Regions from separate parts of the Homo sapiens genome. Here regions 1, 3 and 4 are each linked to region 2. The links are contacts of gene promoters, found by promoter capture Hi-C in blood cells and fetal thymus (Javierre and others, 2016). All regions are on one chromosome and are shown on one strand. Each heading gives the region's core, a stretch centred on a gene start or on the middle of the fragment in contact. The rest is flanking DNA. Distances are from core to core; before and after follow the strand shown. Region 1 holds the start of BTN2A1 (butyrophilin subfamily 2 member A1). Region 2 holds the start of H4C3 (H4 clustered histone 3). Region 3 holds the start of TRY-GTA1-1 (tRNA-Tyr (anticodon GTA) 1-1). Region 4 holds the start of BTN3A2 (butyrophilin subfamily 3 member A2).

The links. Contacts are between HindIII fragments. The CHiCAGO score rates a contact against its expected background, and 5 or more counts as called.
Region 1: the fragment with the promoter of BTN2A1 here is called in contact with the fragment with the promoter of H4C3 in region 2 in 1 of 17 cell types (neutrophils); the score reaches 5.1 in neutrophils.
Region 3: a contact is called between a fragment that was not itself captured here and the fragment with the promoter of H4C3 in region 2, in 1 of 17 cell types (neutrophils). The highest score is 5.6, in neutrophils.
Region 4: the fragment with the promoter of BTN3A2 here is called in contact with the fragment with the promoter of H4C3 in region 2 in 2 of 17 cell types (naive CD8 T cells and monocytes); the score reaches 6.3 in naive CD8 T cells.

Annotation. Positions count from the first base shown.
Region 1 is chr6:26,454,455-26,460,921 of GRCh38, reverse strand. BTN2A1 (butyrophilin subfamily 2 member A1) reads right to left here and starts at 2,967. Exons shown (of 8, transcript NM_007049.5): 1 at 2,780-2,967; 2 at 2,204-2,315; 3 at 1,094-1,441. The coding sequence starts at 2,285. RefSeq lists enhancers at 2,777-2,936, 3,097-3,356. The HindIII fragment of the contact is 11,033 bases long and covers 1-5,239 here.
Region 2 is chr6:26,100,338-26,106,906 of GRCh38, reverse strand. It overlaps H4C3 (H4 clustered histone 3), which reads right to left and starts at 2,974. Exons shown (of 1, transcript NM_003542.4): 1 at 2,570-2,974. The coding sequence starts at 2,959. The coding sequence ends at 2,648. RefSeq lists enhancers at 2,612-3,302, 3,327-3,436. The HindIII fragment of the contact is 10,429 bases long and covers 1-6,569 here.
Region 3 is chr6:26,564,124-26,570,702 of GRCh38, reverse strand. TRY-GTA1-1 (tRNA-Tyr (anticodon GTA) 1-1) reads right to left here and starts at 1,845; the gene lies at 1,755-1,845. It overlaps LOC105374988 (a long non-coding RNA gene), which reads right to left and starts at 1,379. Exons shown (of 2, transcript NR_134611.1): 1 at 1,167-1,379. RefSeq lists an enhancer at 1,174-1,303. The HindIII fragment of the contact is 6,863 bases long and covers 164-6,579 here.
Region 4 is chr6:26,362,101-26,368,907 of GRCh38, reverse strand. It overlaps BTN3A2 (butyrophilin subfamily 3 member A2), which reads right to left and starts at 3,710. Exons shown (of 11, transcript NM_007047.5): 1 at 3,556-3,710; 2 at 858-918; 3 at 641-730; 4 at 1-343. The coding sequence starts at 725. RefSeq lists an enhancer at 3,703-3,752. The HindIII fragment of the contact is 4,055 bases long and covers 1,437-5,491 here.

The sequences.
Region 1 (6,467 bases), core at 1,718-4,217, 350 kb before region 2:
TGTTTAATTTTTGATACAGAGTCTTGCTCTGTCGCCCAGGCTGGAGTGATGTGGTAAGATCTCGGCTCCCTGCAACCTCTGCCTCCTGGGTTCAAGCAATTCTTGTGCCTCAGCCTCCCAAGAAGCTCAGATTACAGGCACACTCCACAAAGCCTGGCTAATGTTTCTGTATTTTTAGTAGAGATGGGGTTGCACCATGCTGGCCAGGCTGGTCTCGAACTCCTGGCCTCAAGTAATCCACCTGCCTCTGCCTCCCAAAGTGCTCGTATTACAGGTATGAGCCACCACGCCCAGCCCAAATATATCTTTTAAAGCATAATACACTAACCCCAAAACTGAAGTAATCACTTAATGTCATTTTAACAAATTCCTAGAAATCCCAGTTTAAATGCATTTTTATGTGGAAGGCTTCCCTATTACCTCCCAGCAAAATTCGTAGTCTTTCTCTATGGAGTTAGCAGGAACTATATATAATTTTGCTTCTGTATTTCGTCTTGGTTTAATAAAACCATCTATTTACAATAAGTCACTCTCTCTGCAATCAGCATTTTGGGAAAGATGAAGTAAAGATTAATATTTATCAAGAAATAAGATTTGATATGTTGTAGTTCTCTGGGTAATCAGTTTATTCCAGTTGTCTTGGAACAATTATTGACAGTGTCTCCTCTCACTCTCAGAAGTGCAACCTGGGAGGCAGAGGTTGCAGTGAGACAAGATCGTGCCAGCGAGGGTACAACAGAGCAAGACTCTGTCTCAAAAAGAAAAAAAAAACCCAAAAGAAGTGCACAGTTCAATCCTAAGGCAGGTATAAGACTTCTCTTCCGAGACTGACCATTTTCCCCTGCTCACGGCCTCAGCTGAATTCTGCATGTGCTTCTCAAGAAGTGAAGCCCTTAGCTTAGCAGGGCAAACCCACTCATGTGTCCCTTGTGCAGGAGGAAGGATTTTTCCCTGGAATTCCGTTTCCACAGGGAGAGTGGAAAAGGGAGTCCAGACAAAAATTTGCTGGTCTGCAATGGGCCTGAGGTTAGGAGAGAAACTTTCCCCAAAGTCACACTGTGCCAAAGTAACAAAGCAAAATGAAGCGACGCACCTGCCACTACGAGGTGCAGGATGGCCTCATCGTAGGACCTGCCTTCTTGGAAGTAACAGCGGTAGGTGCCGTTTTCCTGGGCTGTGATGTTGTGTATGACCAGGGCCACGCTGCCCCTGCTGATGTCTTTGCTCACAAAGGTGGTTCTTCCTCGGTACTCCTCCATCTGCTCCTCTGTTCTCTCTCTGCCACCTTTATACACAAACACTGCGGGGGAGAACTGAGACCGGAACCACCGCACCTCCATGTCCTCAGCATTTTTCTCGGGTGACAGATGGCAGCGTAACGTAGTGTTTTCTCCAACCGTGGCCAAGATGGGATCAGTGGGCCCCACGACAATAAACTGGGCTGTTCAACAAAGGGGTAGAGTCAGACAAAGACACCAGCCATCACATCTCTAAGGCAAGAAAGGAAGCAGATATTCTAGGGACAAACTTATTTTTTCCATGGCCATAGGGTCTCTTTGGGCTGAGAAATCTGGGGACCAGTAGCTGTGGCTAGTCGACAGCACCCCTGGGAGCAGTAACTATAAAGTGTGCTTCTGCTTCATGAAGGAAACCCTGAGGAACCTGCCCTGAGCACCCTCTGTCCACCCTGTGCCCTTGAGGGGATTTTCCTCGATTTCCCAATCTAGTGCTGTGCCTGAGTGTACTGTAAACTTGAGCCGTGCAATAGGACACATATCCACTAGCTAGTTCCAACTGAAATGAGCTGTAAGTGTAAAATACACACAGGATTATGAAGATTTAAAATTTCAAAATGTTGACTATCTCATTGGTAATATGGTATATTAACTAAGTATTTAAATATTCGTATTTGATTATTTGGGGCGAAACAAAATATAGTATACAAATTTATTTCATGTTTCTTTTTACTTTTTAAAATAAAAAGTAAAATTTAATTTTTTTTGAAAATTTGCAATTGTACATGCACTCGGCCTTTGTGCCTCACTGTATTCCTTTTGGACAGTGCTGGTATAAATTCAATGAACATGTTCAGAATGAAAGGGTAAGTCAACAACTCCACAGTCCTTCTTTCTTTCCCTTTGCAGACTACAGGGTTGATGTTCCTTTCTGATAGGTGACAGCAGCAAGTGGCACACATCCCTACCTGAGACCAGTGCACACAGGCTGAGGAGGAGGAGGAGGAGGGAGGCTGGCCGGGAGAAGTGCAGGGCAGCAGCTGATTCCATGAGCACCCAGAGCAGGCAGGGACAGGAGGCCTAGGGTTACAGAGGAGAATCAGCCTAGGAGTCTTGGCACCTCAGTGCTGGTCGGGCCCAACCTCTCCCGTCACTCAAGTAGGTCTCATCAGTGCCCCAACTTCAGGGAGTCCCCTGCATCCGAAGGCTCAGGTATGTCCCGAGAGAGGGATTCCTTAAACATTCCATGAAGTAAGCCATCAATGCCAAGATCAAGGGGGCCTTTTTCCGCCCTCCTCGGCTCACTTCTCTGGCCAGAATGCAGTTTCTTCAGTTGTCGCTGGATTCTACCACACCCTCCTCCCTTCACTTCCTCCTCCCCGCGACCCAGGCCGGGCAGCCTGAGGCAAAGACAGGCGAGGCCGCGCCTCCCCACCGGTGGGCTTTCCCTGTCCCAGGACCCCGTCTCGTGTCCACAGCAGACCCCGCTTCCCCCACCTACTGTGCCCACCCCGGAGCTGTAGCGCCTCCCCTCCGTTTCCTACCTTCTAGAATTAAACGTTGCTTTTTCTTTTCTCCGCTGGTTCTCGACGATTCTCCAGTCGTCCCTCTTCTCTCCAATCTGCCCAGGGGCACAGGCACTACTAGACACAAACCTTCCCAAAAGAGGAGAAAAAATTGTTCTTCCCCTTCTCCTAGGTCGCCATGTTTGGAGATGCAGGAAACGAAATCTGGTCTCCTGGGCTTCCACAGTCCCAAGAGTTCCCTAAGTATTTTAGAGCCCAGGATTGGCCGGGTGTGAGTGAACCAGCCAATGGTGTCGAACCTTATTTCTCAGCAGTTGCTGGGTAGAATACACCGAATCACAAATTTCAAGCAGCAAATAACCTTTTGAGATTATCGGGTCTTTTTATTTCCTTTTTCTTTGTTCGAAAGCAAGACTCTCTCTCTCTCTCTTTCTCTCTCAAGACTCTCTCTCTCTCTCTCGCTTTGAGATTCCTTGGGGAGATTCCCTGGGGTTTGTCACTGAGGTCGGTGGCTTTGCTGGTGTCCACAAGGAGAGGCCTCTCTATGTAGAGGGCAATTTTGCTGGGGAGGAAACATGAGCAGGAAAACGTAAGCCGCCCCCTTTCCAAAGCCAGAGGACTCCTGTTCAAGTTGCTGGCTTTGGAGGTTGGGCCTGGAGCGCAGGAGGGCTTGGGGGAAGCTGGCATGGCTGGAGCGGGAGGGGTAGCAAAGGAAAGGAGACAGCAGTTGCAGTGGCTGTTATGAAGGCCTTGCCATTCATTCCAAAGCTATCGGATAAGAGGTGCTGAGAATCCTGACTGAGGATCAAAAACCTTTTCCCTCAGGGAGGTGGCATTCTGGTGGTGGCAGAAGATGGAATTGAGCAAAACTTTCTAGTTGTCCTTCACCTTCTAGATAGTAGGTGGTCAGGTTGGGTCCAAGAGCCACACACAGACACACACACTAGCACACATACCATCCTCCCGTAAACATCATCCCTCTCCCAAAGGCTCCAATCTTGTAATTGTAAAGATATCTTCCAGAATAATCTTCCCGAGGCCCAGTTGTCAATATTCCCCTCAAGTGTCTAAATGCTTAGTCTGGAGGCCTCCAATTCCCTTCTGATTCAATTCAAAACTTTGCAGTTAATACGCTAGCAATGGCTCCACAGTGGCCTTGCATCACAACGTTGCACTCCCTGTGGCCAGTGCTCCTTTTCCCATGCCATGGCTTTCATTTCAATTGCTTGCTCCATCTCTGCCCCGTGAAATCCTGCCCAGCCTTCGTGCCTACTTCCTCCAAGAACAACTCTGAATGTTCCTGCCTGAAGTGTTCTCGGCCTCTTCTGACACCCAAATCTTTTGCTGTTCCCACGTCCTGTCTTGTATTATTGTTACTCAGGTATCCACTGTGTCTCTGCTGTGACAGGAGTACCTGCTTCTCAGGACAGACTTCTGCAGGATGTGATTCCTCTCACCTTACAGGGCCCAGCTCTAAGCTCTAAGCTCTGCTCTTAGCTGTTGTTCAATGCATGAGTGACATGCTCAGGGTAAGGTCATTCCCACCACATCATGGCCCAGTTCCTGGAGTCATTTGGCACCAGAGTGCGAGAGAGAGGTGCTAGCAGGATTAAGCCACTCTAGGTCAGGATTTCTAGGACTGGAAAGGAGGAACCAGTAGGTTCCTTCTGCAGAGAAAGCTCTTTGATGAGAATAAGCTAAAGAAAGCTCTGAGAACTCTTTTTTCCATTGGACTGACCCTTAAACTGTCTCTTTCTCATACAGTAGTCTCACACGTCACCTGATGTTTCTGGATTATAATTCAAATAAGATTCTGGGTTGAGTGGCTTATGAGGGTAAATACATCAGTATTAGAACTGTATGTATATGAATTCCAAACAGGACTGGGCAGCTGTTGAGAAGAGGCAGAAGAGAAGGATGAAAGGGTCTAACAGCATGGCCAGCCAGGATGAGATCTGACTTTATATTTTTTTACCTGAAGAAATAAGGCCCAGGGCTTTGAAGTAGCCCTTTTGCCAGAAGCATCCAGCTAAGCCAGGCTTCAGCCTCTGCCAAAGTTGATCTGAGCTAGAGGGAAACGTGTGTGTTCTGAGAAGGAAGAGGATCAGTTGACGATGGGGTAGCTTAGAAAGAAATCAGGCTCTACTGGGGTGTGCCCGGTTAGATAGTAACAACCTAACCCAATCATGCTCTGTAGTGGGAGGGATAGAGACAGGAAGGGTCACGTTGGCAAGGTTCTTTATGGACCTGCCAACCCTGGAAGAACCAGGATACAGGGTAAGCATTGATTTCCTTTTGCTTTACAATAAACTACAGTCTGTGAAGGTAATATAGCTGTGTCATCTCCAGCTATGGAGTACTCCCAGGGGAGGCCTAGACATGTTGACATACAGAAAATCCATTCCTACTCTGCCCTGTTCAAATTCTAGATTCCTGACTCACAGAATCACTGAACATATTATAATAGTTGCATAAGCTTCTGAATATTAGGACTACAAGCAATATTAACGAGTACATTTATCTTGCCTCAAAAGAACACATTTTTTCAAAAAGAAGAAATGATACTGGGCTTCTAAAAGAACCAAACGTGAGAAATTTGCCTAAACTCTTTCCATCTTGTAGCCTTCTCTCTGCTCATCTGCTTTGGTCTTCTCTGCAATCCACCATTGTTTAGTCCACACCATGAATGGAGCATTTCTTCCCACAGCTCCCATGCACATCTGCTACAGGAGTAACTAGCCACATGTCACTTGGTCCTCTGGCCTAGCCTGGGTCAGGTGTCCATCCCAGACCCAGTCCATGTGGTGAGGCTGCAGGGCCATGTGATGTGGGCATGTATTGGAAGAGAAGAGGTCACTAATGCTAAATGTGGTACAGCGAGGGCAGAGAGACCTTGAAAGGCATTCACTATATTCTCAGAGGCAGAGCCCTTATAACAGACGCTGTTGATGCCCCATCCCATATTCTCTTGGCCTATCACAGTTTGCCAATAGCTGAGGCACAGTTTTCTGCAAGGATGACAACCTTTCCACCTCCAGTGAGTATCTCCCTTCTCCTTTGCCTGTGAGCTTTATCACACCCGTGATAGTTGCTTTTCTGCAGTTACATAGCCCAATCTTAAAGTGCATTAGAATTAACACTCCCAGGCCAACCTTCAACCAATTCAAGCAAAGGAGGATGGGAAGTGGAGATAAAGTCCCAGGCCCTGTAGTCCTTAGGAAGATTCTGAGCTATATCACACATTTCATATGGTTTCTTAGAGAGTCCTAAAAGGGATTCAGCCAAGTTATCCACATGGTAACTGACTCATGAGTGAACCCTTTATCCCATTTGTCATGTAATTGGCTTTTTTTCATTTCTCAATTTGTTTCTGCACTTGTGTTTCCTGGAATCACTTCCCAAATCAGTGTGGTGAGCTGAATAGTGCTCCCCGCACCCACCCTTTGAGCTATATTCACTATGAAAGTTATGAAAAGAATGTATAACACAGTAAAATGAATTTTACACAGAATTAAGGTTATGGACCTTAAAATAGAGAGATTATTCTAAATTGTCTGGGTGATCTCAGTTTAATCATAGGAGTCTTTAAAAGTAAAAGGCAGACTGAGCGTGGTGGCTCATGCCTATAATCCCAGCACTTTGGGAGACCAAGGTGGGCAGATTGCTTGAGCTCAGGAGTTTGAGACCAGCCTGGGCAACATGGCAA
Region 2 (6,569 bases), core at 1,725-4,224:
ACTACTGGTTTTACAAAAAAGTAAATTAGTCAAGCATGGTTGGCACGCTCCCTTAGTCCCTGCACCCAGGCGTTTAAGGATACAGTGAGCTATGATGGTGCTACCTCACTCCAGCCTGGGTGACAGCGAGTCAGACGTTGTCTCAAAACTTAAAAAAAAAAAAAGTTAAAACAGAAAAAGGGCTTCTTGTCAGAGACTGCCGTATATCTAGAGGTCCAGGAACTAAAAAGTCTGATGTCCAATCCTGAAAAGCTCGATGGTGCACTAGAGGAGGCTTTTACATGTAAGAGCATCTAAGTTCTGGAAATGCCAGTGTCAGGGAAGGGAAGTGGAGAGCAATTTGGCATCCAAACATAACTTGCTGATACTTTTTTTTTTTTTAACACAAGTACTACATTCTAGTCTTTCTGTGGTGTCATTGTAACTATTGTTTCTTAATATGCTATCCACTGACTTCAAGGGATCAATAAATAGGAATCAAGGTGTCCCAGAATATGGATTAGGGGAGTTTTTTTGTTGTTGTTGTTGTTGTTGTTTTTCATCTATTCATTATCCTGTAGCTGAAATTTAGAATTTTCTTCCATTGTGTGTGACTGATAGAAATAACAAATTTGTAGGTTATAGTTGTTGCAAGAATCTGGAAATCGTGCTTGCTTATTTCCGAAGTACTATTAGGTATATCAACAAAAACACACATATTACGGTCAAGTGGTTTGATAATTATTTTAATATTATTGGTCTAATACAATTGTAACCCTATGAATTACTTTAAGTATCTTATTTATGAAAAGAATCTGTAAGTTTCATCAGACTACCAGAGCATACCGAAGACTGAAAAATTTTAAGAATCCAAACCTTAATGGAAATGTTGGAGGCTGCCCAATTAGGTTCTGAATTCCACCTTCCTGAATCACAAACTTGTTTTAACTCTCAGTCTGAGGTAAACTACGTTTCTCTTTAAACAGACATAGTTTAATTTTCCTTTGATTTTTGATTTAGTATTCTTACTGATCATCATAAATAACCAATGCTAATGTTAGTCTACTTTGGACCATGGTATTTCGAGAAACTTTGAACAAAGTCCCCTGCAAAACTATGCATTGCATTATTTCACATACATTTATGTTTTCCAGACGGTTCAATAGTACCTCACTTTTCTGAACTTATTTGTATAGTTTGGCATCTTTTTAAAAATTGTGTCCTATAATGAAAGGTTGTAAACATTATGTTTTAAATTTGTATAGATAAAATCAACCACAGACCTTTCCTTGCTTGGATGTAATTGCCATTGTTTCCCAATGAGTTCGGAATTACTAGGATTGTGCAAAAATATGCCTCACTTGCCTGACATAGCAGAGAGCCATTTTGCCTAAATGCTGTGCCCAGCAATGGACTGTCACCAGATTCTCATCACATACAGTGAGGATGAACAACTAGCCTCTCCCAGCAGCTGGCCGGTCTCTCAATAATATGGGACTCCCTCAAGATGGCTTCCTGCACCTTTGCTCCTCTAGCCTTGTATGTATACAAGGCTAGCATGCCTGGCATACATAAGGTTAAAAACAAAATCAATAAGTTATGGTTCTTCCTCCAGTTCTGGGGATTATTAGACCACTTTTTTGTTTTGTTTTGTTTTGGATGGAGCCTCGCTCTGTCACCCAGGCTAGAGTGCAGTGGCACAATCTCGGTTCACTGCAACCTCTGCCTCCTGGGTTCAAGCAGTTCTCTGGCTCAGCCTCCCACGTAGCTGGGATTACAGGTGCCCGCCACCACGCCCGGCTAATTTTTGTATTTTTAGTAGACGGGGTTTCACCATCTTGGCCAGGCTGGTCTTGAACGCCAGACCTCGTGATCCACCCACCTTGGCCTACCAAACTGCTGGGAATACAGGCGTGAGCCACCGCGCCCGGACTTAGACCACTTTGTTTTGGCCAATAGGACAACAGCCATAGAACCCTCCGCAAATGAGAGCTTGTCCCTAAAGATGCTTTATTTACATAGCTGTGTGCCGCATGAGCCAAAAGGTGATAACCTTTGTTCAACACGCGCCTCCAGCCCTTCGGTTAAGTCCAAAGTACCATTCTTAGAATGCTCTAAAATACATAATTTTTTTTTTTTTTTTTTTTTTTTTTTTTGAGGAGTCTCTCTCTGTCTCCCAGGCTGGAGGGGAGTGGCGCGATCTCGGCTCACTGCAATCTCTGCTTCCGGGCTAGCTGGGCCTACAGGTGCAGACCACCACGCCCGGCTAAGTTTTGTATTTTTTTTGGTAGAGGGGGTTTCACCATTTTGGCCAGGCTGGTCTCGGATTCTTGATCTCAAGTGATACACTAGCTTTGGCCTCCCAAAGTGCTGGGATTACAGTCGTGAGCCACTGCGCCCAGCAAAATGCTTTTTGTGGAGCCAATCACTTTATTAGCGCTTACCTCTCTATGCCTACTTTATGCTTTGAAATTTTGTCACAGTGTGGCCGGTCATGGCAAACACAATTCATTCTTATGCAGGATGTCACGGTTATTTCTGTCATCCAAACTCATTCTCGCAACGCATTTCAGCTCTTTAAACGACTTTGTGAGCGGCCCTGAAAAGGGCCTTTGGGTTTTTTTGTTTTTGTTTTTTGAAGTTCTCAGGAGACCGCGTATTCTTAGATTCAGCCGCCGAAGCCATACAGAGTGCGCCCCTGACGTTTTAGGGCATATACTACATCCATGGCTGTGACAGTTTTGCGCTTGGCGTGCTCCGTATAGGTGACGGCGTCTCGAATAACGTTCTCTAAGAAAACCTTAAGCACACCTCGAGTCTCCTCATAGATAAGACCGGAAATGCGCTTGACGCCACCGCGCCGAGCCAAACGGCGAATAGCCGGTTTTGTAATGCCCTGGATGTTATCCCGGAGCACCTTACGATGGCGCTTAGCACCACCCTTCCCCAAGCCTTTTCCGCCTTTGCCGCGACCAGACATGATTCCTATCGCAGTGGAAGGTATGAACTGAAACAGTTCCTTAAATACAAACTTGGCGGACCTGATTGAAAACAACATGAGTTGGCGCGGTTTTTTTTTTTTTTCAAATTTGGTCACCAAGTGGGTGGAGCAAGAAAAACTGTTTCATTATGGTTCATTGTTTTGATTGGCCAGTGACAGCTTGCTCTTTGTGGGAGTGGAAGGGTGTTTGCAAGTTGAATGCGCTGTATTCCTGTCAGCTTAATGACGCTAAGCATAGCCCCATTCCACATTTCTTTTTATTTCCACTTGCTAACTAATAAATTACGGAATAGTTTATTGGGGAACATACAAATAATGTTTAAAGGAGGTCAGATTTATAGGTCAAGGGATTTACCCTCCCAATCATTTTAATATTTTTATTTAAACCAGGCATTTTGATGGCCTTCTCTGTGCTGGACAAGGTATAAGTTTGGCTATGAAGTTTCACTCCTAAAGACCCTATGTTTTGGGAAGGCAAAAAGGTAGCCAAATAATTGCAAATTAAAACCTCATAAGTGCAAACTTCTTCCTCGTCACTTTCCCTATCTCGATTCAAATATTTGTTGAATGACTCATTTTTCTGCAAAAGTCTGAGAGAGACAGGGAATATAAACTTAAGTCTGGATAATATGTTTTCCCGGGACGCTCTTCCTGGTCTGCTGTGCCTGTTTGCTGTGCCTGAAATTCCAAACACTCTTCCCTTCCCTCCGTTTTTAATCCCCTTTCAACTTGCTACAGCTTTAGAGAAAAGAACATTCGTTTTGTACAGTTGGGGATTAATTGAAGTGTAGGGCTAATACTTGATTAAGGTCATTACAAAATCTACAGGGTCTTCCTCTGGGAGGTTTTTGTGATAAGATTATTGGTGTTAAAATAAGGCTAATCCCCTTGAAAAATAAATAGAATAGCAGAATTGGGTCTGAATGTGGTTTGAAGAAAGGGACTTCTCAATTCAAAATTTTATTCTTAGCTTCCTGCGGGAGCTTTCCAGAATGCCCATAAGATCCACTTTTGTTTAAAAAACAAAAACAACCCCACCCACCACTCTCTGGTTAATAAATGAATTTCTATTGGGAATATTTAGAATGGGGCTGTGGCCTGTGAGAGACATTATATAGTAACCTCAGACTTGCTCACATGAAGAGAAGAAATCCAGGAATGGAGAAAAAAGACCCAGGAAAGGCCAGAATGCTCTACATGTCATATTGTTTGTATCACTTCTGAAATAATTGATTACATTCTTCTGCCCCAAATTGAGTTCTTAGGTTCTTCCACTCACTGTCCACATGCCACAACACAGACCTTATAACTAGAGACTTAGCTAGGAAGAAATGTCAAACATTACAGAGAAAAAATGCAGAGTCTGAGATCATAAGTAAAACTCTGAAATCTCAACATGCCTTTTAATTCATGAAAATAAAAAATATAGCAGCATATGCAATATGACAATTCTCTGAAAACATACATCATGTGAACTACCCTGGAACACATCTCGCCAAGTGCCATCTTCATTTTAACCAGAGGTCTAGGATGCCTTTCCTTTATTTTGCCTATTATATCATTTATAAAACCCCATTTTTATTTTGATATTTTATTTACTTTCTATTTCCTGCTCCTAATATCTCCTTTCTAAACTTTTCTCAATGACAGTGACTCAAAAACAATGAATGTCAGAACAAATATTTAAAGGATCTGTACATGTAGATATATATATTTAAAATGGATTCTTCCACTCTGCGAAGAATTCAGGCATACTCAATCTTATGGTTAGGGAGAGATTAGGCTCACTCGCCTAATCTGTATGGCTTCTCGTTCGCTTTCCATTTCACCTTCCTCTCACCCATCAGATCAAACTCATTCATTGAACAAGAGACCTAAGCCCTTCAGATTAAAACTCTGCAAACAAGTTGTGGTTGAGAGGATACATGAAGCATTCAAACAAATAAATCTATGATATTAATCAGAGGTTAATCTATGATATTAATCAGAGGTTAATGCAGTGGCTCACGGCTGTAATCCCAGCACTTCAGGAGGCTGAGTTGGGAGAATCGCTTGAGCTCAGGAGTTCAAGACCATTTTGGGCAACATAGCAAGTCTTCATCTCTACTTAAAAAAAAATAACCAGAGGTGTTATGAAAATATAAATTGTCCAGAACTACCCTCCACAAACTAACTCTCTCAGAATATTCGATATGAGGAATGAAATATGGTGTGTGTGTGTGTGTGTGTGTGTGTATGTGTGTGTGTGTGTGTGTGTATGCACCTATATATGGCACCTATATATTCAACAAACAATTCTGATAATTGGCCAGGGTTGAGAATGACTAGCAGCCCAGCATACACTATCAGTTTTAAGTATATAATTGCGCTTTAGTAAAATGTAAAGAAATCCCAGAGTAGAAATACTTTTAAGCTATATTACAGGTGAGAAAATGCATAAGTATAGTCTCACCCAACTTAGACTATGGGGGCTTTATAATGTCACAACAGTTGTTTCCAGGCATTTGGGGACATCACCACTGGTCTTGGGCAAGAAACTCCTCTAGCCAATGGCTGATTTATCTCACTCCCATCTAAGGCTTCACTGCATTTCTCTTTTTCAGCAACCTAACTTATTTAAAAATATCCATTTTCTGATTCATTTTTTTCTGAATTAAACTGTCAGTACCATTGGCACACCTTTGGTTCCGTAGCATACCTGTGTCTCTGCTGTGTTTTTTTTTTACCTCCACTCCTTACTTTTCTAGAAAAAAATCTCTGCTTTTTCTTTTCAGTTTAAATTATTTCACAAAAAGTTTTCTTGACTTGCACTTCCTAGGCTTGCTGTCCTTGTGTGGGCACGCTCCCATAAACACTATTAATACACTTCGATTTGTTAAAAATAAAGATATCTGGACAGAAAATTTCTTTTCTTTTTTTAAGATTTTAAAATTTTTAATGTTTATTTTTTTCCTAGACTGGAGTACAGTGGCACCATGATGGCTCATGGTAGCCTACACTTCCCCGGGCTCAAGTGATCCTCCCACCTCAGCCTCCCAAGTAGCTGGGACTACAGGTGTGCACAACCACACCTGACTAATTTTGTTTATTTGTTTGTTTTGTTTTTTGAGATGGAGTTTCGCTCTTGTTGCCCAGGCTGGAGTGCAATGGCGGGATCTCGGCTCACCGCAACCTCTACCTCCCAGGTTCAAGCAATTCTCCTGCCTCAGCCTCCCGAGTAGCTGGGATTACAGGCATGCATCACCACGCCCAGCTAATTTTGTATTTTTAGTAGAGACGGGGTTTCTCCATGTTGAGGCTGGTCTGGAACTCCTGACCTCAGGTGATCTGCCCGCCTCGGCCTCCCAAAGTGCTGGGATTACAGGCGTGAGCCACCACGCTCGGCCACTAATTTTGTATATTTTGTAGAGATGGGCTTTCCCTGTGTTGTCCAGGCTGGTCTTGAATTCCTGGGCTTAAGTGATCTGCCCACCTTGTCCTCCCAAAATGCTAGGATTACTGGCGTGAGCCACCAGGTCTGGCTGGAAAGATAATTTCTAACATTATCCTCTCTTAAACATTTGTTTCAAAAATTTTACAAACATGAGAG
Region 3 (6,579 bases), core at 2,346-4,845, 460 kb before region 2:
TTTGTTTTGACGTTCACTCTTCCTCTTCTGAAGTCATCTTGCTATATCTTGCCGGAGGGTGGGGTGGGGGGGTCTGCTGCTGTTACTGGTGCTGGCACATAGGAGGAGAATTGTGACAGAGAATCTATCTGGACTGAAATCTATTGTGCCTTGGCAAGAAGCTTAGTCCAGGACTATTTAACAAATGTTGCATTCAAGCCCCAAACATTACCTTTGAAAATACCTATTTGTTTTGTTTTGTTTTGTTTTGTTTTCTGGCTGGGTGCGGTGGCTTGCGCCTGAAATTCCAGCACTTTGGGAGGCCGAGGTTGGTGGATCAACTGAAGTCAGGAGTTCCAGACCAGCCTGGCCAACATGGTGAAACCCCGTTTCTACCACAAACACAAAAATTAGCCCGGCGTGGTGGCGGACGCCTGTAATCCTAGCTACTCGGGAGACTGAGGCGGGAGAATCTCTCGAATCCGGAAGGTGGAGGTTGCAGTGAGCTGAGATGGAGCCACTGCACTCCAGGCTGGGCGACAGAGCGAGACTCCGTCTCAAAAAACCACAAACAAAAGGCCATTTTTCTTTTGCCCCCAACCAGCTTTCAAAAAGCAAGTTCATGGGGGAGCTATCAGTTTAGATCCATCTCCAGCCCTTAATAGGAGTGGCTTCCAATGCGTTTTGGGCAGGGCTCTCCAACCACCACCCTAATTCAATAAGCCTGGGCTTCTGTGTTTTTTGTTAGTTTTCCAGGTGGTTCTGATATCCAAGTTTGAGAATTATTTTCATAAAGAATAAAAGTTTGGAAACATGGGAAGGAACATACAAGAAATTACCAGGCACAAAATCCTCAGAAAACGCTTCCTTACTTTGATCTAGACAAAGATATTTGTCATTAAGAACTCTTCCATAGGTATCTGGGATCACATTTTTGAGACACAAAAGGGTACAATGGGATTAATATATTGTAATTAGATTGGCACAAAATTAGCAAATATGTACCACTGTTATGCCAGATCTCTACTTTGTGAGCTAATTCCCTATGTGGGTAGGAAATCCTGTCCATTTTTTCCCTTATGTACTATTTTCTCCTAAAATGATTCTCTTCTACCAGTGTTTTTCAAAACTTGCAGTACAGGAAAGTCAGCTGGTGAGCTTTTGAAACTACAATACCTGAATCTTACCTCCAAAGAAACCCAAGCATAGATGCTTTGTAAAATCTCCCCAGGTGATTCTAATATCGACCACATATTCTCTGCTAGGGTCGAAAGACACCACCATGACAATTAAAAGGAGAAGGGGGAATAGAACTCCTGAATTTCATCCCGGCTTCAGATGTATAGGGTTCAGACGCTAGTGGTTCAGCTTGTAACTGACTCGCAACGATTCAGAACTCTGAACACCAGGGCACGCGCGTGCCCCACCAATTACCAGTTGCTCCGAGTAATTCCCACCAGCCGCCCCTTTCCCCCGGCTGTGGATCCGGGGTTGAGGGGTGGAGACGCCTCTGTGGATCTCTAGCCCAGTGGACCAGTGTCTGATTCACTTCCTCAGTGCCCAGGGCTTCTAAGAGGGTTGGATTATACGAATTATAGGGATGAAGTCTTGATGGCGCGTGTTAAAAATTGTTACGGAGAATAATAAAAAATTAAAGAGATTCACTGCACATCCAGAATAGTTTTAAATAGATTCTTATCGAGGATATGTATAAGTGAAATACGCATTTCTGAGAATGAATTTTAAAACTTACGCAAAAAAAAAAAATTGTGAACTCCTTCGAGCCGGATTCGAACCAGCGACCTAAGGATGTCTAAGGACACAGCCAACTACAGTCCTCCGCTCTACCAACTGAGCTATCGAAGGATTCACACGACTTTCACTTCCCGCTGGGGATGCCATCTCTGCGGAAGGTTGGGCAATCGTGGATGCTTGTCGTCCTGTTTACCTGCGTCGTTGATGTTCTTTTGACATCCACTACCCCTTCGGAACTGACTGATATTCAGAGGCCCTTTTCTCTGAAACAGGGAGAAAACGGGAGCACCACCCTCACTAGTTTACAAAAAGAAACATAAAATGTTAAGGAGGCACAAGGAACTGATAAGAATTTAGCAATGACCATCTTTTGTTGTGATGAATGCATTATATAACCAATTTTAACCTCTACCTAAAAATAGAATTTGAAACACTTTAACAATGCAATTTTAATGGGATTTTATTGAGATAACTGACAGGAGGAAGAGAAGGAAGAGCAGGCTAAATAATGCAACTTCGAAAGCATAATAATTTTTTTTTTTTTTTTGAGACAGAGTCTCGCTCTGTCGCCTGGGCTGGAGTGCAGTGGCGCGATATCGGCTCACTGCAACCTCCGCTTCCCAGGTTCGAGCGATTCTCCCGTTCTCCCGCCTCAGCCTTCGAGCAGCTGGGATTACAAACGCAAGCCACCACGCCCGCCTAATTTTTATATTTTTAGTAGAGTTGTGATTTTTGCCATGTTGGCCAGGCTGGTCTCGAACTCTTGGCCTCAAGTGATCCGCCCGTTTTGGCCTTCTAAAGCCCTAGGATCATAGGCGTGAGCCCACAGCAGCTGGCCATCACATTAATTCTTAACTCAGCAAAAACCTATCCATGGGTGTGCTAAAATGATACATTTTTAAATGATTAACACAAGGTAATATCATTTCAAATATTAGTTTTGCAAAGTGTAAGATTCTTGTCTAGCTTTCTATGACTCTGAAGCTCAGAATAGCTATTATCCTCCCTTGTTAATGAAAAAATCCACTTGTGGTGGAATCTGGCATCCGAAATCTGTTTCATTATGGCCCGGCGCGGTGACTTACCTCTGTAATCCCAGGACTTCAGCAGGCCGAGACGGGGAGATCACCTGAGGTCAGGAGTTCGAGACCAACCTGGCCAAAATGGTGACACCCCTGTCTCTGTTAAAACTACAAGAATCAGCCGGGCGTGGTGGTGGTGGGCGCCTGTAATCCCAGCTACTCGGGAGGCCGAGGCAGGAGAATCACTGCAACCTAGGAGGCAGAGGTTGCAGTGAGCAGATATGTTGCCACCGCACTCCAGCCACTCCACAGAGCAAGACTCCGTCTCAAAAAAAAAAAAAAAAAAAAAAAAAAGAAAAGAGAAAAAAAAATCTGTTTCATTCTTTTTCATGTTCCATTAAAGATAATTACCTTGTCATATAATGAAACATGCACAGGGCAAATGATCCTTCTTGTGCAAGTAGGCCATTGAGCCCAATGTTCACTCCTTTATGGCACACAGATTTTTTTTTTCTTTTCTGAACAAAAATTGAAAGTACATTTAACTTGGCCATTAATCTCCTCAAGTCCATGAAACATTTATTTGAGTGGGGCGAGTCTCGATGAATTAAATGTAATGTTTTATCTCCTCTCCAACCTCAATTGCCTGAATAAGTTATCCTATTTCACAGATGTATTTACTTTTATACATTTGGTCAAAATACACTTTTCAAACGGTTAAATGCATGATTCATATACGAATATGAAATAAACACTTGTCAAAGGTTTAATTCACTAATGAGGGAATCATCAAGATGGTAAAACTGGTAAAACTGGATCGAAGAATTTATTGATAGTCACTGAAAGAAGCAATGCTGTAAATTAACATTGCTAAGTGAGGTAGAGAACTGGAAACTGCCTTACAGGACAATAAAACTGTACTGTTTCTACAGGACGGAAAATAACTAAATATCAGACGAAGTTCATTTGCATCACCACATCACGACGTTCCCTTACAAAGCTGAAAAACTACCCTAATCAATAAATAGTAAACTAGGCCGGGCTTGGTGGCTCAGGCCTGTAATCTCAGCAGTTTGGGAGCCTGAGGCAGCTAAGTCTCTTGAGACCAGGAGTTCGAGATCAGCCATGGCCAACATGGTGAAACCCTGTTTCTACAAAAAATACAAAAATTAGCGGGTCGTAGTGGTCGGGGGCCTGTAGTCCCAGCTACTGGGACTGGCTGAGGAGGGAGGATCCCATGAGCCAAAGAGTGTGAGGCCACAGTGAGCTATGATTGTGTCACGTCACTGCACTGCAGCCTGAGCGACAGAGCCAGACCCTGTCTCAAAAATAAATAGTAAGCCAAAACAATGGTACATACTCGTGGAGCAGTAATTTCTCTAATGGAGCAATTTTGCCTTCACAACGGTCATCTGACAATGTAAGAAGACATTTTTAATTGTTGTGACTGAGGAATATAGTAGGTAAATTGTTGTGACTGAGGAATGTAGTAGGTAAAGAACAGGAATGCTAGTAAACATCCTGTAATGCATAGAACAGCCCCCACAACAAAGAATTATAATATCTAGTCCAAAATGTCAATAGCGCTCTATTGAAACTCTGCTCTAGAGAATGAAAATAAGATAATCCTGGGCCTGCAGTTTTCTAATTGGCTCCCCTTGTCCAGATTGGTCCCCTCGGTTCTGTTCTCCACACAAAATGCCAGCAAGTTCTCACTGAGAGGTGTCTGAGGTCCATAAGATTGGCACCATTAAAAGAAGTTCCCCCCGGGCGCGGTGGCTCACGCCTGTAATCCCAGCACTTTGGGAGGCCGAGGCGGGCGGATCACGAGGTCAGGAGATCGAGACCATCCCGGCTAACATGGTGAAACCCCGTCTCTACTAAAAATACAGCCGGGCATGGTGGCGGGCGCCTGTAGTCCTAGCTACTCGGGAGGCTGAGACAGGAAAATGGCGCGAACCTGGGAGGCGGGGCTTGCAGTGAGCCGAGATCGCGCCGCTGCACTCCAGCCTGGGCGACGGAGCGAGACTCCGTCTCAAAAAAAATAAATAAAAATAAGTAAATAAATAAATAAAATTTTAAAATGCAGCCCATGTGGCAAACTAACATGCAGTTAATTCGCAGATTTGATTTCCATTCATTCATTCGGTAAAGGTTTACTGCGTACCTGCTGCGAGCTGATGGAAGAGGCCCTGGGTTCTTTGCGAGCGCGTGGTCCCTTGAGTCCCTTGAGGGTGAGGAAATCGCACCACCGACCTCCACGTGTAGGGGAGGACGTGGTGCAGCAGCGCCAGATAACGCCGGAAGAACCCCAAGTGGAGGCTGCTTGGGTCCCTCGGGAGTGAGTGAAGAACCAATTTCTGTGGCATGTGTTTCAACAGTAACTGTACTGTAATGCTTCCTAAAAAGTAAATATGTATTGAACTAATTGTATACATAGACCCTTTTGAACACAATTTAAAAGTAAATAATGAATTTTGGTAGTAGAAGTTACAGCAACATGGACAGGCTATTTACTCGTATGTATGATGTAATGGAAAGAACACAGAGAGGTATTGGAGCCACTTAGTCCACCTTTGAATCTATGTCTCACTAGTAGTATGACTTCCCTAACTTCCTCATGCCTTATACAAAATGGAGATGATGATAATGAAGGTAATACAGATCCTAAGGGGATAGTTGTGAATATCAAATTAAATAGAATTTGTAACGCACAGTTCTCAGAGTGTGCTGTCCACTGCCTTACTCCCACAGGCTCAAACAGGGGAACCCACAGAGAGTACTTTGAAAGCCTTTTCGCTGGGCCTTATCTTTAGTGAAATTAGAGTATAAAAAATTCAAGAATAACACCATAGGAAGCATACGAGTAATAATGTAATCATTAAAACAAGTCCCAAACAGTACCACAAAAAAAGCTAAGTACACAAGAATTTAGACTATGTAAGAGATCAGATTTGGTTGAGATTAATTAAGGAAAGCCTCCTAGATGGAGTTATAGTCCTTACAGAGGATTTTTTTTTTCGAGACAGGGTCACACTCTGTTGTTGATGCTGGGGTGCAGTGGTCCAGGCTGGGGTGCAGCGGTGGGATCAAAGCTCACTAAAGTCTTGAACTCCTAGGCTCAAGGGATCATCTCCCCTCAGCCACCTGAGCAGCTGGGATTAAGGCACATATCATCATGCCCAGCTAATGGGCTGGTTTATTTTGTTTTTGTATTTTTGTAGAGACTCAGTATGTTGAGTCATAGGTCTCACTATGTTGCCCATGCTTAGTTAGGAATTTTGAAGAAGCGATTGATCAGAATCACTTTTTTTTTTCCCCTGAGACGGAGTCTTGCTCAGTCACCCAGACTGGAGTGGTGCAGTGGCCCGATCTTGGCTCACTGCAACCTCCGCCTCCCAGGTTCAAGCAATTCTTCTGCCTCAGCCTCCCTAGTAGCTGGGATTACAAGCGCCCGCCACCGCGCCCAGCTAATTTTTGTATTTTTAGTAGAGACAGGGTTTCACCATGTTGGCCAGGCTGGTCTCAAACTCCTGACCTCGTGATCAACCCGCCTCAGCCTCCCAAAGTGCTGGGATTACAGGCGTGAGCCACCACTGGGGAATATGGCAAAACCCCGTCTCTACAAAAAATACAAAAGTTAGCTGGGCGTGGTGGCACGTGCCTACAGCTCCAGCTACTCAGGAGGCTGAGATGGGAGGATCACTAGAGCCTGGTGTTAATGGTGGTAATGGTGGAGGGTGTCCAGGTTCTTGGCGTCTTGAACAAAGAACTGGACAAAACGCACAAACAGAGCAAGGAAAGAATGAAGGGTTTTATTGAA
Region 4 (6,807 bases), core at 2,461-4,960, 260 kb before region 2:
ACCTTCAGCTCCACCAGGGCTTTTTCATAGAAGTCACCATCTTGGAAATAACACAAGTACTTTCCACTGTCAGAGGCTGTGACGTTGTGTATTCGGAGAGCAGCCTTCCCTGCAGTGATGCCATCCCGCAGAATCGAAGTTCTCCCTCGATACGGTGCACTCTGCCTGTCTTCCACTTCCTTTCCATCTGCATACACGTTCACCACCTGCCTTAGGCTGGAACTTACCCACTTCAGCTCCATGGTCTCTGCACTCATGGTCGGGAACAGGTGACAGGGCAGATCAGCGTCTTCACCCACCATGGCCAGGATGGGCCCAGAGGGTCCAAGCACAGAAAACTGAGCTGTCAGCACAAGGGGGAAGCTCCATCAGAGGGTTTTGGAGTTGGGGTCATGAGAGGAAGGGTCCTTCTCAGACAGGGAAGGCGAGATACAGAGAACCTAGAGGGGAACACAATCCTAACAGAAGGACCATTTGTCTCTTTGTGACAGGTGATCCTTCAGGTTGGGATGGACTTCCAGGTATGGGAATGAGTTAAAGGTTCTAAGAGGGCATTTAGGTAATTGTCTGCTTAATTAGGTAATTGAGATAATTGTCTGCTTCAGAAACATAAATGTGGAATCATGGAATCATTCCCTACCTGAGCAAGGAGTGAGCAGCTGGACCAAGAGGAGGGAGACATGAAAGTTGAGCAGAAGGAAAGCCAGGGAACTTGCCATTTTCATCTATGCTGCATATCAAGAGATACCAGAAGGTGTGGGACAGACACTATGGCCTGGAAGAAGCTTTAGGATTCTGCATGGAAATGTCCACTTCCCCAGGGCTAACTCAAATATGGTGACCGAAGAAGATCTTACCTCTGCCAAAAATGTCTGTCCTTGAGTGTCTTTACCTTTGGGTTCCAGTATGGAAAACCATCTGTAAAAATAATATCTGTTATCTGATCAGGACATCTCTGACTCTACTGCATTAAAATATTAAAATATTCATAATCCTATCACTTCCCCACACTTCCCTTGCCAGGTCCAAGCTTCCATCATCCCCCTCTGATTCATGAAGGACCCTCTTCACTGGATTCCCTGGTCCCACCCTTGTTCAGCTCTGTGGGTGTCCAACACTATGGACTCCTCAAGCGTCAAACTCTTGGCCATTACTACAGTCAACTTATGGCCTGGTGGCTCCTGGTGGGATCCAGGCAGACTGCCTGGCAGAGGCTCTGAAGTCAGTCAGGGGCTGAACCCACCACGTTTAATCACAAAGATATTGATTAGGAGAGCTTTGAATAAGACCAGGCTTTACTCATCTTTTCTTTCTTCCCTTCATAAAGTTATTCAACAAATATTTACTGAGCACCCACAATGGGCTGGACCCACTATGGTAGAGTTAGGAACACAAAGAGGGTAGACAATAGGTAAAGGCTCTACAAGTCACAAGCTTGATGATCTCAGTCATGGGACAAAACCATTTCAACTTTAGTTACTCAAAAATATCGAGTATGAGACTTAGAATGTTCACAATTGGCCCAGCAATTCCACTTCCTGATGGTTACTTCAGCGAAGTACTCGCATGGGTGCAGAGAGAAGCCTCTGTGGGAATGACACTGCAGCACTATTTTTAAAGTATAAAAGTGGTTACCAACTGAACCAGCCACTCACAAGAGACTGGTTAGAGGAATGATGGCTCATCCCTAGGAGGAAATTCAATGCAGCAGTTAAAAAGAGTGATTTAATGTCACTAGCCTGGATAATGGAGATATACTAAGTGATTAAAAAGCACCTTGCAGAACTATACTAATGATTCAATTGAAAAACAAAAGCAAAGCTATACATTTCTGCATAACTATATATGTAAATGCCTGAAAAAGTCTAAAATGATGGATGCTAAACTGAAAATTGGAGGTTAAGTGAGTGAAAGGACGCTTTGGCCTTTTGCTTCCTTTACTTTTAAAATTATTGGAATGCTTTAAGTTTAAAATTTTCATGTATTAGTTAATAACTAATTATTATGAGGAATAATAGTGACTGGAACATATTAGCTGCTCAGTAAATACTAACTCCTCAACAGTTTCTCCCAAAACAAAGGAGCATGAGGCCTGCAGCCATCATACCAGCTGCTGTGGGTCTGGGAATGGCCTCTGAGAACAAGGTCTGCAGATGGAGGTGGGGAGAGATGTAGAGGAAGCAAGGGAACAGAGGTCTGTGCAGCTGGTCATGCTCCACCCCTGCCTGGATCTTGCATCCACCATCAGACTAAACATTATATTTCACCACATCTTCTGCTCCTCGAAACTGCTCTTTATTCTCCTAAGGAGAAGGAGGTATTATTAAGCTAAGCTAAAAATTTCTCTGCTGTCCTCAGAGGGAGAACTTTTATTTTTTAGGTTATTTATTATTCATTCTTTCTACTATAGACAATTTTGCCAAAGAAAAAAATATAAAGGAATAAAACCTTAAATACTCTGTAGTTATATACTTTGCTAATGGAAGTGGAAATGTTTCTGGAAGCATTTGGCCATGTACACATGGCAAGTGCCTTTAAAATGTTGTATTATTTGCCCCCAAAATTCCAACTATAAAAGTTAGTGTTGAAGAAAAAAATTTAGAGATTGATGCAAATATTTATGGATAAGGCTGTTCAATCTAGTAAAATCTACAGTAACAAAATGTAGAAACTGAAAAATCCAAAATAAAGAGTTTTAAAAATAATTCGGGTTTTTTATTTGTTTGTTTGTTCTTTTTTCTTCTTTAGGAGCGGCTTTCTGAGTCAGAGTAGGCTCACAGAGACTCCCAATAATTATATATTCATACAATGTAGTAGCTTGTAACCATGGGAAATCATGCTTTAGGTTTTGGGGAAATGATGAATGGAAAGAAAACCAAGTACTATCCCTAAAAGATACCAAAAATGGTTTAATATAAGGATCCAGTGTTATTAAAATTATAAAGAATTTCACTTAATTAAAATTATGATTCCTAATGGTTACATGGAACATGTTTTATGACTGAACCATGCATTGTTTGTCTATTCCCCACCTGTTGAATATGTATGTTGGTTCAGATTTTACTATATTATAAATACTTCTGTAATAAACACATTTACATATAAATCTATGAGGCACATCTCTTTTTTCTTCTTCTTCTTCAGAATTTCTCAGAATAGATGCCTTGAGTTGGCCAGAACAGATTTTAAGGGTTTTTTGTTTGTTTGTTTGTTTGCCCTTTTCTGACCACAATACGTTAAGAACATGCAGTTGGAATATTTCTTCATTCATGTTGTCTCCCTTTCCTTCCACTAAATCCCAACCTCTGCAGTTCCTTATACTTTGCAGTACTTCTCCCGTCTTCCCACGTGCCCATATGTGCATGTGCGAGTGTGCACATGTACACATGTACACACACACACACACACACACACACACACACACACACACACAGGCACTGCACCCCTTTCTCTGGGAGAGTACTCTCCCTGCATGCCCACTCACCACTCTCAGCGATTCAGCCCCGCTCCTCCCATGCGTTGTAGCCCAGGCTCTAATCAATTTCCTGCACTTACCCCTTGGTATTCCCATTGGAGAATCAGAGCCCACAGAATAAAGACGGTCAATCAATAATTCTCCATTCTTTCTATTATGGCTTAGCCTCTCATCCGGAAGAAAGGAAAAAGAGAAAGCAAATATTGTCTTCTCACCATGAGAAACAGTAAGAGTCGCTCTTTGGAAGAATTAGTTTTTTGATTGGCTCAGAGGTGATGTTTCTCATCAGTTGCTGGGCAGAAACCACTGAGGAACGTTGAAATGAAAACTGAAAGTACATTGAATTGTACACGTTGAGGAAAAACTCCAGCCCTACCTCCCTTAGTGTTTGTGTTTCTGTGTTTATCTATTTGAATCATTCTTGTGCGTGGATGTATATAAGTATTTCTTTATATTCACCTGTCTCGTGTCTTTTACATGGTAATAGAAATATTAGCAGAATGGAGTAGGAAAGTAAAAAAATTTAATGTGCAAAGAGAGGAAGATGTGCACTAATTAAGATGCTTCTGTGGCAGTTTGCTTGCATGTAGATAGGTACGTAGAAGAGGAGGATCTTTTTTACAGAGCCTAATAAAGGTATGAATGGAAAGAAAATGAGACAAACTGCACCTCTTTAAGAACTTCTGGCATTTAGGCTTAGGATATGGTATCAAATAATATAATTTTTCTGATTTCCAGAGGCAGTGCTGCTTGACATTGTTTTACCTTTCCCAGGAAATTCTTACTGCAGATCTTTCTGAGCATCTTCATTCACCCTCAGCTCCTGGTTTGTGCTATATTGTATTTTCTTGGGTATTTGTTTCTCACGCTGCCAGTGGAGTACATATTCTCTGAAGCTAGACACTCCATAGGCTGTGGTCTCTGTAAGGCTCGTTTCCTGTACACCATCTCTGTAAGGAGTTTATGGGACAATCTTGTTCTCCCTGTGGCTTACGACCTCAAAACACACTTTTTTGGGCTGCAAGCCAGAAATCTCCTAGAGCTAATATGTGACTGGAGCTGATGGGATTTGATTATATTGCAACAGTTTGAATTTAGGCTGTGTGGTATCTGCTTGAGATGGCTGGTTGCTTCTGCAGCGTGCATGCCCCCTTCTTCTTAGTGACAAGGCCTAATTTTCTGGGGTACTGCATCCTGCTCTTCCCCCTTGAAGATAGGGCAGGCCAAGGGACTAAGTTGGAGCCAGCGGTTTGTAGGTGAAAGTTGTGGGCTTGTACTTCTCCCAGAAATCCTTCAAAGGGAGGCCAAAATAGCTGGGAGTGTGAGGGTACACTCTCCCTTCTTCCTTCTTCCTCTTGCCTAGAACATGGACTTTGGACCCGGAGGTGCAGTAGCCCACCCTGGGACCATGAGGCAGCCTTGAGGTTGGAAGCCACACACTGGGACAGCAGAGAATGAAGTCAGAAGCAGGCTGGGGCATGAATGACATATCTGAGGTGCCAGATCAGCCCTGGACTGTCACCATCTAAATTTATTTAAAAAATTTTTTCTTTTAAAATATTTTATTATATATTAGTACTCAGGGTAAATTTCCAAATAAGTTTGTTTTTCATGAAAGGAAAACAAATCCTTGTTTTATTTAAGCCAGTGGTACTTCTGGTCTCTGTTATCAACAGAAAAACACAATTTTTCCCTCCCCCTTCCCCCTCCCCAACAGTTTATTATAAAACTTCTAAAACATATAGCAAAGGTGAAAGAATTTCAGTAAATTCCAATATATCTACCATGTAGATTGTATAATTAATATTTTAGTTTCTTACTTTATTATAAATCCATCCTGCTGTTCACCCCTATTCATCCATCAATATTTGTTTATTTGTTCATTTGTTTATTTTTAAATTCAGACTCTATCAGAAGCTGTGCTGCTTGAGATCGTATTAGTAAGAATGAACATCCCACCTTTGCCTGGAGGGTCCAAGTCACTTTGACACAAAGAAGCAGCCAATGTGCTAAGCTTCAGATTAGGAGTTTCTGAGCCCAACTCTTCATATCTCTGAACTTTGTAGTTTCCAAACTATGAGACCCCTAAGTTCATTTCTCACTCAATGTCTTTGTTTCTTCAGCTATGGGTAGGGATGTGACCTGCTTCTTAAGTTGTTTGGGGAGAACCTAGCACAGCACCTGCACATATTAACTCTTTATGAATGTCATTATTTTCCATTATGAAAGGTTCGGTATCAGCTGGTGCCTGTTGTGGAGTTGGAGTTTTAGTTTGAAGGTGAAGAGAAAATCTTTTTTAAAAATGGCATGAGAAAATGTGTACATTGGAAACAATAGTGTGAAAGGTGCCAGGGAAGATGGGAAGTAAGAGTGCCATTTACATTGTATTCTGTGGAATGATGACGCTATGATTACACAATATAGCCAGTCCTCATTAGAGAATCAGATGGTAGAAGACAAGGAGACCAGGAAGAAAGCTACTGTGACACTCCAGGCAAGAAATGATGAGGCCTTAGGGATGGAGGAGAGGGAAGAGGATTGATTATTATTCTTAATAATAGCTTATACTCACATAGAACCTACCGTGATGTTGGTATTGTGCTTAGAGGTTTACATGCATGAATAATACTTTTGCTTTGTGAAGTTCTGAGCAGAGAAGCCCACTAAGCTCTGCCTGGACTTCTGACCCACAGAAACTGAAGTGATAAAAGTGTACTGTTATTTATTTATTTATTTTTGAGGCAGAGTCTCGCTGTGTTGCCCAGGCTGGAGTGCAGTGGCACAATCTTGGCTCACTGCAACCTCCACTTCCTGGGTTCTAGCAATTCTTGTGCCTCAGCCTACCAAGTAGCGGGGATTATAGGTGTGTGCCACCACGCTGGGCTAATTTTTTATCTTTTATTTTTTGCGTTTTCAGTAGAGATGGGGTTTCATCATGTTGCCCAGGCTGGAAAAGTGTACTGTTTTAAACCACTAAGTTTGTGGTAATTTGTTATGCAGCAATAAATCACGAATGCATTAGGTAAGTGAAACACACAGTGGCAACAAACATGAATATAAAGAAGACAAAGAGAATAACTTGTGTTTCCAGCCCTGACCCGTTGCCTGGACTGCAAGCTTATTATTGACCTGCCTACTCTACATCTCCACGGGAATCTCTAGTAAGCTCCTCAAACCCAACATATTCAAAACTGACCTTTGGATTCTGTGCTGGCTCCTCCTCTGGCCTCCACAAGCGGTTTCTCCCTCATTTTCCCCATCTCAGTAAGTGGCAACTCCATCTGTACCGTTTCTTAGGACCAAAACCTTGTGGTCACCCTTGATGCCCTCCT